Linked DNA regions of Homo sapiens: all the other regions are linked to region 1. The links are contacts of gene promoters, found by promoter capture Hi-C in human tissues and cell types (Jung and others, 2019). All regions are on one chromosome and are shown on one strand. Each heading gives the region's core, a stretch centred on a gene start or on the middle of the fragment in contact. The rest is flanking DNA. Distances are from core to core; before and after follow the strand shown. Region 1 holds the start of DEGS2 (delta 4-desaturase, sphingolipid 2). Region 2 holds the start of HHIPL1 (HHIP like 1). Region 3 overlaps CCNK (cyclin K).

Region 1 (3,787 bases), core at 394-2,893:
GCTTGAACCTGGGAGGCGGAGGTTGCGGTGAGTGGAGATCGCATCACTGCACTCCGGTCTGGGCGACAGAGCAAGACTTCCTCTCAAAAAAAAAAAAAAAAAAAAAAAAAGTTGTTCAGGCCAGGCGTGGTGGCTCATGGCCCATGCCTGTAGTCCCAACACTTTGGGAGGCTGAGATGGGTGGATCCCTCGAGCTCGGAAGTTTGAGACCAGCCTGGGCAACATGGCAAGACCCTGTTTCTAGTAAAAATACAAAAAAAATAGCCGGGCATAGTGGTACACACCTGCAGTCTCAACTACTCAGGAGGCTGAGGTAGGAGGATCAGTTGAGCCCAGTGGGGAGAGGTTGCAGTGAGCTAAGATCGCGCCTAGCCAACATGGTGAAACTCCATCTCACTACAAATACAAAAATTAGCCGGGTGTGGTGGCAGGTGCCTGTAATCCCAGCTACTCAGAAGGCTGAGGCAGGAGAATCGCTTGAACCTGGGAGGCGGGGGTCGCAGTGAGCCGAGATCGCGAGACTCTGTCTCTAAATAAATAAATTAATTAAATTAAATAAAACGCCCGATTAAAATGTGAAACCTCCATCAAATAAGTGCAAATTAAAGCCACAGTGAAATGGTATTGTTTCCCCAATCTGACTGAAGATTACAAAGTGTGGCAACGCGCGGTGCTGACTTAGGCAGGGCGGGAGGGGCGGGCCTGTCTCAGCCTGTGGCGATTTGGTGGCATCTGGCAAAAGCCACTCTCCAGACGCAGGCCCTTTAACCCCGTAAGCCCGGGCCAAGGACGACTCACCGGGGCCACCTTGCTTGTGGGTGGGATGGGGCCTCTGGCATGAACGAGAGTGACTCCGAGTGGGTAAAGATGCCCTCCTCGCAGAGGACACGAAGCAACAAGGAAAACAGCCACCACGTAATAAGCGACATGCCAGAATAGAAGGATTCTTTAGTACAATCTTTGCTTTTTTCAAAGAAAACACGCGCGCCTCTCATTCGCGTTTGCTCCCTTCCCGGCGCTCATCCGCCCTGAACTCCAGCCTGGGGCGCCCGTGGCCGCGAGACCCAGGGGCTCTGAGCGCAGCAGGCGCCCAGTGACTGCGGGTGGAGGCCCCGCGTCGCGCAAGCTGCCTCCGCGCCAGGGAGCGCGTGCGCCTCGTAGCGCGTCCCGGGGCCGCCCCTGCGCCCTCGCGTCCCAGCATCCCAGAGCCCCGGCCCTGGCCCCGGGAGTGGCTCGCGAGGAACAGCTGGGACGCGCTCCCTGGCGCTCGGACCCGTACTGGGGTCCTCGGAATCCTCAGGTCCCAGGGAGTTTCAGACCCGGCCAGGGTGGGGGACCCTCGGGGAGCCGGCCGGGGACCCCAGGGAGGGGAGCGGCAATGGCGGAACGCCCACTGGAATTTGGGCCAGAGCTGGAGCGGCCCGTCTGGGCTCGACCCCACGACGCGACTCCAGACGGGCCAACGGGGCGGTCCCCACCGGGGTGGGCCCCGCGCGGCGCTCACCCAGTATCTCCTTGCGCCGCTGCGTGTGCGGCTGGTCGGTGTAGACCCACTCGAAGTCGCTGCGGCTCGCGCTGTTGCCCATGGTGGGGCGGGAGGCGCCGTTCGGAGCGCGGCCGGCTCGGCTCTGCTGCACCTGTCGCGGCGGCCGCGGCGCGGAACCAGCTCTGATTAGGGCGGGGGCGGGGTCCCGGCGGGGCGGGGCCAGGTGCGCCAGGCTTGGGGCGGGGCACCTCTGGCTGGGCGGGGCGGCCGGGCCCCGGCGCTCTCCAGACCCCGGCGGGTAGCTGGCGCTTTGGGAACCTCAGTTGCCTCGGTTGGAAATGGGGCTCCCCGGCAGGACCGAGGTGGCCGCGTGCCATCTGCGCGAGTCCCTGGGTCCCTCGATGCGCGGGGGCGACTGCTGCCACCGCGGCCTCCCACCGGCTCTGCGCGCCCCGCCCACCCGCGGGCAGCCGTCGGGTTTTTACCCCGGCCCGTTCTCTCCGCAGCCCCGACCCGCTCGCGGGCACGCCCCTGTGGCTCGCGCCGCCCCTGCCCCAAGGAGGAGCGGCTGGCAGGATAGGGGGACTGCGGAGGATCGGCGTGGAATGGATGCGACGGTGCCAGTAAACAGGCGCCGAGGAAAGGTTGGTGCAGCAATCCTCCCTTCCTCCACCCGGCCCTTTCACCAATAATGCAAAGGGGAGATAATGCGTCTGCAGCAACCTCACAGGGATGAGTCAGACCCACTCCTGCCTTCAGGGAACTTGAGTTCTGGATGGGGACACAGGTACAGAAGTGGCTGTTATGATTCAGGGTGATACGTGCCATGACACAGGTAGGCCCTGAAGCAGCTAGGATCCAATAGAAGGAACTTTTGCATTGGGCCTTGAGGGGTGGGTAGGAGTTCAACAGCTAGAAAAGGGAAAGGCATTGGTGCTAGGGGGAACAGCAGATGCAAACGCTTGGAAACAAGGCAGAACCTGAATGTTCTCAAATGGAAAGTCTAGTTTTGGGGAGGTAAGGGCACAGGGCCCCTCATCTTCACCCTCTCAGTGATGCCTCTGTTCCTTCTCCCACTCCCTTGGAGTTTTGGAGGGTGGACCTGCTGTGCCTGTGGGCCAGAGCCTGGCCTCGGCTGGCAGTTGCCTGGGAGCTGACTGACACATCAGCCAGCGCTGCCACAGGCTCGCACATAGTGAGGGCGTGCTTCTGTGCGTCCCATGGAAGTCCATGGCCCGGGGTTTGGTACACTTGGCAGGCCTTCCTTAGCTCAGGGCCAAAGGCAGTCCTGAGTGAGCCAGGAAGGAAGGCATGGGTGTCCTGCAGCCGCCAGCCACCATCCCCTGAATTAGCCATGGGAAAGGTGGACACAGAGGCCAGATTTTCCATCAGCAGGGGGACCCACATGCCACCATGGCCATCACCCCTTGCCACACCCAGGAGGCCTCCCGGCCCAGCTTGCACCCTTGGGAGAAGACTCATTGCTCCCAGGGCAGCCTGCTCTGTTCCCAGCCAGAAGGGTCCTCAGAAGTCATCCCACCAGCCATCACTTTACAGATCAGGAGACTGAGGCCCAGAGATGAGGAGCGCCTTGCCTGAGGCACAGAGGAATTAACAGCAAGGCTGGGGCATGACTTTGGCCCCTGACCTTTGAATTAAAAAGCTTCCAAAATCAGAGCCTTCGCCCCTGTGTTGAACTCCGTGAGATCTGCCGCCCTGAGCCCCAGCTCCACCCTCAGGACAACACCAAGCCTGCCAGTTCCCTCTGCCCCAGGCCACCGCCTATCCAGAGGAAACTCACCAAGGCCCTCATTTTCCAGATGAGGAAACTGAGGCCAGAGAGGGGACAAGTCAGAGGACATGCTGAAGAAGACCTGGGAGTGGAACAGACACCCAGGATGCATGAAATCAAGTCTGATGCCCTTGCCAAGTGCTCCCCAAGTCCCTGGGGAGCCAGAAACCCAGCTTCACGGTGTTGACGAGCCAGGAGCACATACTGTTGCGTCCCCACCCTGTCCGTTGTCCCAGAAATGACAGAAAATACATTTTCGTTTGTAATGTGGTGTCTTGAATGGGATCCTGGAGCAGAAAAAGGACATTAGGTAAAGCTAAGGAAAGCCTAGTAAAGCTGGACCATAGTTAATCATAGTGTATCAATATTGGTCCATCAAAGGCAACAAATGCACCATATTATAAGATATTAAAATAAAGGAAACTGGGTGTGGCATATATGTGAACTTTCTAAACTATCATCACAGTTTTTCTGTAAATATAAAGCTGTTCTGAAAAATAAAGTTTATG
Region 2 (3,974 bases), core at 872-3,371, 510 kb before region 1:
TCCCAGGCTGGCTCTGATGCTCCTTCTGACTGACTTTTTTTTTTCTTTTTTGAGACAGAGTCTCGCTCTGTCACCCAGGCTGGAGTGCAATGGCACGATCTCAGCTCACTACAGCCTCCGCCTCCTGGGTTCAAGCGATTCTCATGCCTCAGCCTCCCAGTAGCTGGGATTATAGGCGCGTGCCACCACGCCTGGCTAATTTTTGTATTTTTAGTAGAGACGAGATTTCACCATGTTGACCAGGCTGGTTTCGAACTCCTGACCTCGGGTGATCCGCCCGCCTCAGCCTCCCAAAGTTCTGGGATTACAGGCGTGAGCCACTGTGCCCGGCTCCTGACTGTGACTTTTCTTATCTTTTTTTCATGCCTTGTTGTTTTTCTGGAAAGCCAATCAGGATGTACTAGATAACAGAAACCGAGGTAAATAGGTATTAGGGTGAGGATTTATGTTACTCTGGCTGGGGCTGGGCTGTGTTTGACATTTTCTGTGGCTGTAGGAGCCCAAACCTCATGGCTGTGGCCCAGGCTCTGTGTCACTTCCACCTCTGTACACTCATCTGGAGCCCTGTGTTGATGTGTGACTATCACCCAGTTCTGAGTCCCAGCTGGGAAGTAGGCGCCATCGTGCCCTCCGATTCCATCCTGGCTCTGCCTATTCCCAGCTGTCTGTGCAGGAAGCCGTTGCAGGCCGCATTTCCCACCCTAGCAGCCCTCTGCTAGGTTCAGCCAATGAAAGCCACAGGTGGGAGTTGGAGGGGAAGTGGCAGGGAGAAGCCGGGGTATTTCTCCTCCTCTGTCTGTGCAGAATCTCTGACAGTGGCTATCTCCAGCTGTGGCCAGACAGGCCTTGTGAGGGTCCAGCTTTGACAAGGTGACCATAGCTCCTTGGCTCCAGTAACATCTGCTCTTCCTGCATCAAGGACCTGGGGACTGTTCCTACTGTTGCTGATCTCAAGGTTACTTCACTGAGCCCTGTATGGCTTCTTAGCCTCTTTGGCTTCAAGTCCCTGCGTTAAATTCCCCGTGTTTCAAATACTCAGAGATGTTTGGCTGTGCGGAGACCCTGACTCTTACACTGCACCTGTTCAGGCCAGAGCCACAGACCTCTGAGTGCTCCAGCCCTGCCGCATCTCATCCACCCCCAGCTCTGCCAGGAGCATGGGCCCAAAGACAGAAACATGATCCCCCAGGACAGTCCAAAGAGACCTGCAGAGGACGGATGTGTGCGTTGGGGCCATGAAGATGGAGTAGGAGCTCACTGGACAGAGAAGATGGGGAAGGACACTCCAGGGAGAAGCAAACGCTGAGGTCCACTTGAGAAAAATGCCTGGGTGGTTTTGGTGCTGTGAGATTCTAGGGTAGGTGAGACAGTGTGTGTGTGTTTGTCTGTGTGGGTGGTTTTGGTGCCATGAGATTCTGGGGTAGGTAAGACAGCGTGTGTGCGTCTGTATGTGTGTGGGGGGGTGGGGCGGGGTTGGGTCTGAATCTCCAGCGGGGGCAGCGGAACAAAGGGCTGGATGCCCATCCCAGGAGGTAGATTCATCAGTGCTCCCTATGCGAGAGTGGAAGTGGGGAGCCCCAGTGGGTCCTGGGCTGCAGGAGAATCCGCTGCCCCAGGAGCAGAGACTGGGAAGAAGCCCACAGTAAGGGCAAAGGGTGGACTGCGGAGACTGCTCCGTCCTCCCTCCCCACCCCTACGCCAGGTTTCACTTCTCCCTGAGAGTCCTGGGGCAACACCCCCTGTTCTTTCCCTCGCACCCCCATTTTTAAAATGTTACGTGGGAGCTTTCGGGGACGGGCTGCGGGCATCCGTTTCCCTAGCCCAGTGGGAGGTGGAACCGAAGCCCAGGAGTCCAGGCCTCTGGCCCTGCGCCTCCCTGGCTAAAGAGCGCCCTGTGGGGAGGAAGCAGGGCCCCAGGCGGAACCGGGAAAACACACCGGGGCTTTAAACAGACCGGGCCACTCCCATCGAATTTGGAAAGCGGTTAAAAGAGGTCGTGCCGCATTCTGCGCCGCGTCCCTCTTCCTTCAGTCCCGCCGAGTGTCCCCGACCAGAGGTGACCTCCTAGAAGGGGAGGTCCCCAAACTCGAGGCCCTGCGTGTAGGGAAGGGGAGCGCCCGCCCCTTCCCTGCCGCCGCGAGCGCCCCGGGAGGGGACCGGGGCTGCCGTCCCTCCGCCTCTTCCCCCGCGGGGCGTAGCGATGGCCCGGGCCAGGGCCGGGGCGCTGCTGGCGCTTTGGGTGCTCGGGGCCGCCGCGCATCCGCAGTGCCTGGACTTCAGGCCGCCCTTCCGGCCGACGCAGCCGCTGCGCCTCTGCGCGCAGTACTCGGACTTCGGCTGCTGCGATGAGGGGCGCGACGCCGAGCTGACCCGCCGCTTCTGGGCCCTGGCGAGCCGCGTGGACGCCGCCGAGTGGGCCGCGTGCGCCGGCTACGCGAGGGACCTGCTGTGCCAGGTGAGCGGGCGCGCGGCCACCGGGCGGGGCGGGGCGCGGGAGGCCGAGTCCTGGAGCAGAGATCGGAACCCCGCGGGGGCGAGGGCCAAGAGTGGGCGGCGGACTCGGGAACTCTAAGCCCCAACAGGGAGTCATTTGGCACGGGGCGGGGAGACCGCGCATCCCAGGACGACTCTTGGCTTTGCCATTCATTAGTTTTGTGACTTGGGCCTTCTCGGGGCCTCAGTTTCCCCTCCTGAAGCAGGAAGGACGGACGGACGGACAGATGATGTCATCATTTCCTCAGAGGTTGGGGGCTCTTCTGCCCCAGTCCCCTGGAGTCGACCCCTCAGCGTCCCACCCCGAGCAGCTGCACCCTTGTCGGGGTACCAAGGTGGAGAGGCATCTGTCCCGGTCAGTGCTCCTTTGTGTTGTCCCCGGGGCAGTGAAAGCAGGGGGCCCTGGCGTGGGCGTGGTCAACGTGTGGCCCGGGTTTGTTGAGGGGGTTGGGGCCACTGTCCCCCACGAGCGTCTCACCCCCATCCTGATGCCCTTGCCACTTCCGCCACCACCTCTGTGGGTGCTGTGCCCTCTCCTGGGGATGGCGCCCTGGCCTGCAGAAGCTCTCTCAAGACTGAGCGACAGCTCTTTGTTGAAGCCCCTGGGCCCCCCATCTTCCCTCTGAGGGTGGAGCCCCTGCTTCTGTGCACACCTGGTGGTGCCACCGCTATTTGTTTTCCTCTTGTGGGAGTCTGAGGCCCCAGGGCCTGACCACACCCAAGTGGGCAAATGTTGCCTGGCTGAATGCAGAAATGGAGCAGGACGGGCAGCCCCAAGGCATTCCTGCCTCAGCATCTGGGCAGTGAGAGGCCTGGGGTGGAGAGGCCCCAGGGGCCAGGGCCGTGTCCCAGCCTTCGGCCAGCAGGGGCAGGTGGTGTGGGGAAGGGCAAGAAGGCTGACTTGGAGTTGGAGTTTGATCCTGGCTCTGTCACTTCCCCAGCTTCGTGACCTGGGCAGGTCACTGCTGCACCTCACAATATCTTTAAAATGAAGCTGAGTATGGTGGCTTATGCCTGTAATCCCAGCACTTTGGGAGGCCAAGGTGGGCAGATCACTTGAGGTCAGGAGTTCGAGACCAGCCTGGCCAACATGGCGAAACTCCATCTCTACAAAAATACAAAAATTAACTGGGCATGTTGGGGAGCTCCTGTAATCCCAGCTACTCGGGAGGCTGAGGCAGGAGAAGCACTTGACTCTGGGAGGCAGAGGTTGCAGTGAGCCAAGATTGAGCCACTGCACCCCAGCCTGGGCAACAGAGCAAGACTCCGTCTCAAAAATATAATATAATATAATATGATATGATATGATATGATATGATATGATATGATATGATATAATATAATATAATATAATATAATATGATATAATATGATACATAAAATAAATAAAATAAAACCTTAACCACCCCCCTGGGTGGCCATGCAGATTAAATGCCACATACTAGGGGCTCGGTAAGTGTTTGCAGTTGGATTTCTCGAGG
Region 3 (4,050 bases), core at 1,066-3,565, 670 kb before region 1:
TGTCTGATAGATATTTCCACAAAAGGATCTTAAAGTTCTTCAAGCTTAGTATTTATAGAGCCAAATTCTTTTCCTCCCTCCTTATCAAAACCAGCTTTTTCTCTTGTCTTATCCATTTGTCTTTTTAGTATCACCCTCTGTGTCAGTCAAACTTGAAATCATCTTTTTCCATTCTTTGCCTCATGGCCAATTATGACACACACACCCCTTGTTCCAGCTGCCATTGTGTGGAGACAGGTGTATTAGGCATTACTTGAACTGCTACTATAATCTCCTAACTCTTCCTCTTTCTGCATACCTCTAAACAGCCCTTACCTCATTATGTTCTCTCCCCTTACATGCGTTATTATTTGTGGCACTTAAGATTCCCTGACAAATATTCATATATTTCTTTCTTATTGTCTCTCCCACTAGAATGTAAGCTTCCTGGGGCAAAGACCTTACTTATCTTGTGCCCTGCCATGCCATTAAGGCCTGGCTCATAGTAAATGCTCAGGAAATATTTAAATGAAAAAGTACATGGAAAACTGTTAGGCGTATGTATATTAAAGTAGCAATTCCCAACTGTGAATAAATTGCTAAGATGTGCTAAGATATTGATTCCCTCAGCCAACTGTCCAGTTGCCTTCTGTTCTATAAGAATATATGTACATGTTTAACACTTATTAATAATCAAACACCAGAAACATTTACATGCCCAAACAGTAGAATGTATAGATAAAGTGTGTTGCATTCATAGGATATAACTGTACTGTACAGCAGACTTTCTCAGCTTTGGCACTATTGACATGTTGGACCAGATAATTTCTTGTCATGGGGGATTGTTCTGTGCACTGAGGACATTCAGCAACATTCCTGGCCTCTACCCACACTAGATGCCAGTGGCAACCCCCCAGTTAGGAAAACCAGAAGTGTCTTCAGACATTGCCAAATGTCCCCTGGGGGGCAAAATTGTCCCAGGTTTAAAAACCACTGCTCTGCGGCAGTGAGAATGAACAAATACTGCTTTATGCAACAACAGGAATGAATCCCATGAACTTAATATTGAGCAGAAGAAACCAAATGTAAAAGTGGTACTGTGTCATCGCACAGTCCTTCAAAAACAGGCAAAACAAATTGATGGAAATAGAGGTCAGAATAGTTATCTTTGGGAGGATAGTCACTAGGAAAGAACGAAGAGAGCTTCTGGAATGTTGGTACTGTTCTCTTTCTCAACTGAATAGTGTTAACACAGGTGTGTTTACTTTGTGAAAAACAATCAGCCATACACTTATAATTAGTTCACTTTTCTTTTTGTATGCTATAATTCAAATCACAGTGTTGTAATTTATGAAAGCAGTACCCACACATAAGCAAGTATTCCTTGGCTATCGAGGGATTGATGAAGATAAGGAGTCCTCCTGGTCTCCTATTCAGTCTCATCTGACTTTTTCCCCAACTTTTTATTGTATGAAAGAATAGTGCAATGACAACTTATTTACCTGTGGACACATGTTCGTTTTTTGCCATGTTTACTGTGTGGTTGTGTTTTAGCTGAACCATTTGAAAGTAGGTTGCAGACATCATGACACTTTACCCAAAATACTTCAGCCTTCATCTGCTAAGAATAAAGTCATTCTCCTGTGTAATCACAATATCATTATTACCCCCAAAGAAAATTAACTGACAGTAATTCCCTCCCTAATACCCTCTAATATACAATTTATACTTAAATTTTTCCAAATTGTTTGAAATTTCTTTTTTTTAAAAAAAAAAAAAAAGCAGGATCTAATCAAGGTTCACACATTGCATTTTGTTGTAGCCCTCTTTAGCCTTTTTAAATCTAAGACAGTCTCTCAAAATGTTTTTTCATAACACTGTTTTGAAGAGACCGGGTCAGTTGTTGAGTAGAGTGTCTCACCTTCTGGATGTGACTGATAGTTTCCATGTTGTGCTTTTTTCACTTACTCTTGTACCACCAGTATTTATTGTAAACTGGAAGTTCGGTCAAAAGTTTGCTTAAATTTAGGTTAAGCTTTTGGGGGACAAGAATACTACATAGGTAGGTGATATTTATTTCACATTGCATCACATCAGAAGCCATGTAATGTCAGGTTTTCACCCTATTAGTGATGTCAAGTGTGATCATTTTGTTAAGGATCAACTGTATTTTTTTTACAGTAGTTAATATCCATGCTAGCAAAGTCGCATTTATTATCAGTAGCATTTTATTATCAGTAGTTATCAGTGCTAGCAAAGTATTATTCTCTATATGTATTAATATTATGGACACTTGGATTGTATGTTCACTATTTTATGATCAACCACAGTTATTTTTCTTTTTGCTATTCAAATTACCTTGGATTAGTCCAGTGGGCACCCATCATGGTGGCTCCTATGTCTTTTTTTTTTTTTTCCCTAGCAAATCATTCCTTCAGCAGTCCTATGTCTTTTGATAAGCTTTGATTAGTCTGAGTACATCCCAGGCAGGCTCCAACCCCAGACTGGAAAGAAACCTGCTTCCTTTTAGAGGGTATTGGTATTGAAAAAGTTAAGATTTCAGAATTAGGAGTGTCATTCCTTCTTGGTACTTGAAAAGGACAGAAATGGGATACATATATATATATTTTTTTTTAACCATGATTTATTTTGATATCTTCAGTTAAAGTTTAACATTACAGATTTGTTTCTTAACATTTGGTTTTCTGCATGTGTGCATTTGTTTTCTTTGCACTGAAAATCTTGGTTCCTAACAACATTAGCATTTACATATTTGCTTTATTCCACAACATGCAAAAAAAAATGTGTTTGAAAATTACAACATTAATGACACTACTAACAGTACACTAATGAAGTTTTAAAATTTCGTTGGGGCCAGCCACTGTGGCTCATACCCATAATCCTAGCACTTTGGGAGGCTAGGCGGGAGGATCGCTTGAGGCCAGGAGTTCGATGCTGCAGTGAACTAGGATCATGCCACTGCACTTATAGCCTGGGTGACAGAACAAGACTCTGACTCTAAAATAAGTAAGTAAGTAAATAAATAAACAAATAAATAATTCTTTTCAGTTATTTTTGTCCTTAGAATATATCTCACTAAGCATGTAACAATATCAGAAATTACTTGGAAGTAAGTTTCTGTGTGATTTTGTTGCCCATTTGGTTTGAGTTTTAGGATTTGCTTTTTTATTTTTAGTTAAGTGTATGAGTATGTTAAATATTTACATGATTCAAACATCAAAGTTATAAAAGTACTCTGCAGGGAGTCAAGCTGAAAGAGCACCTAATGGCCACATTGGAATAATTTGAGCAACAAAATAAATAATGATAGTATTGGATTATAACCCAAAGAATAAAATACTCATGTCTGTACTAAAGTAAATAAACAAATGGGAGAGAAGAAACAAATATTAACAAAATGATTCCAAATAATAAATGTTGAAGCAGTGAAGGAAATAGAAAGTCACCATTAGAACACCACAGTTGTAATCGTCTCAGGTGAATGCTAAAATTAGTAGATGAAACTTGAAGGAGAAATAGACATTTGTATAGTATTTTGCATTGTAAAATATTTCCCCCAAAATATTTACTTACTAGTGGGTGGTTTTAACATATGTCCACAATTTCTTTGATATCTCTGCCTCCAGAAAGTAGAGCTTAATTCCTTTACCCTTGAGTGTGGGCTGGACCTCGTGACTTGCATCTAAGGAATAGAAGATAGGAAGGGAAAAATAATAATTTACAGTGAGAAACCTGGTAGACTCCATCTTAACCAAGAGCTCATGGTTAACAGCAGTAAGTTGTTCTGATATCACCTGCACCCAAATATGATGTGTAGTTAATAGTGGTTATACCAAAGTTAATTTCTTTTTTTGGATAAATGAACCATGGTTATGGAAGATGTTTACATTGGGGAAGCTAAGTGAAGGGTATAGACAAAACTCATCTATCTTTACAGCTCTTCTGTAAACGTACAATTAGTTTAAAATAAAAGCTTTCATAAAAAGGCAAAGCTGTATAAAAAGATATATACATAGAGAAGTCTTGTTTCCATTCCTGTCTTTTCCATCC

What was found. The method cuts DNA at HindIII sites, captures the fragments that hold promoters and counts their contacts. A contact is called where the count stands out against the background at its distance.
Region 2: the fragment with the promoter of HHIPL1 here is called in contact with the fragment with the promoter of DEGS2 in region 1 in 2 of the 25 tissues and cell types used here (H1 embryonic stem cells and stomach).
Region 3: a fragment that was not itself captured here is called in contact with the fragment with the promoter of DEGS2 in region 1 in 1 of the 25 tissues and cell types used here (dorsolateral prefrontal cortex).

The regions. Positions count from the first base shown.
Region 1 is chr14:100,158,002-100,161,788 of GRCh38, forward strand. DEGS2 (delta 4-desaturase, sphingolipid 2) reads right to left here and starts at 1,644. Exons shown (of 3, transcript NM_206918.3): 1 at 1,505-1,644. The coding sequence starts at 1,586. It overlaps LOC124903380 (a long non-coding RNA gene), which reads left to right and starts at 2,036. Exons shown (of 2, transcript XR_007064330.1): 1 at 2,036-2,130; 2 at 3,307-3,713. RefSeq lists silencers at 1,431-1,490, 1,591-1,990. The HindIII fragment of the contact is 21,272 bases long and covers 1-3,787 here.
Region 2 is chr14:99,643,008-99,646,981 of GRCh38, forward strand. It overlaps HHIPL1 (HHIP like 1), which reads left to right and starts at 2,122. Exons shown (of 9, transcript NM_001127258.3): 1 at 2,122-2,455. The coding sequence starts at 2,201. The HindIII fragment of the contact is 28,378 bases long and covers 1-3,974 here.
Region 3 is chr14:99,486,533-99,490,582 of GRCh38, forward strand. All of the region lies in intron 1 of CCNK (cyclin K), which reads left to right. Among named protein-coding and RNA genes, the nearest start is that of CCNK, 7.1 kb to the left of the region's middle. The HindIII fragment of the contact is 4,165 bases long and covers 234-4,050 here.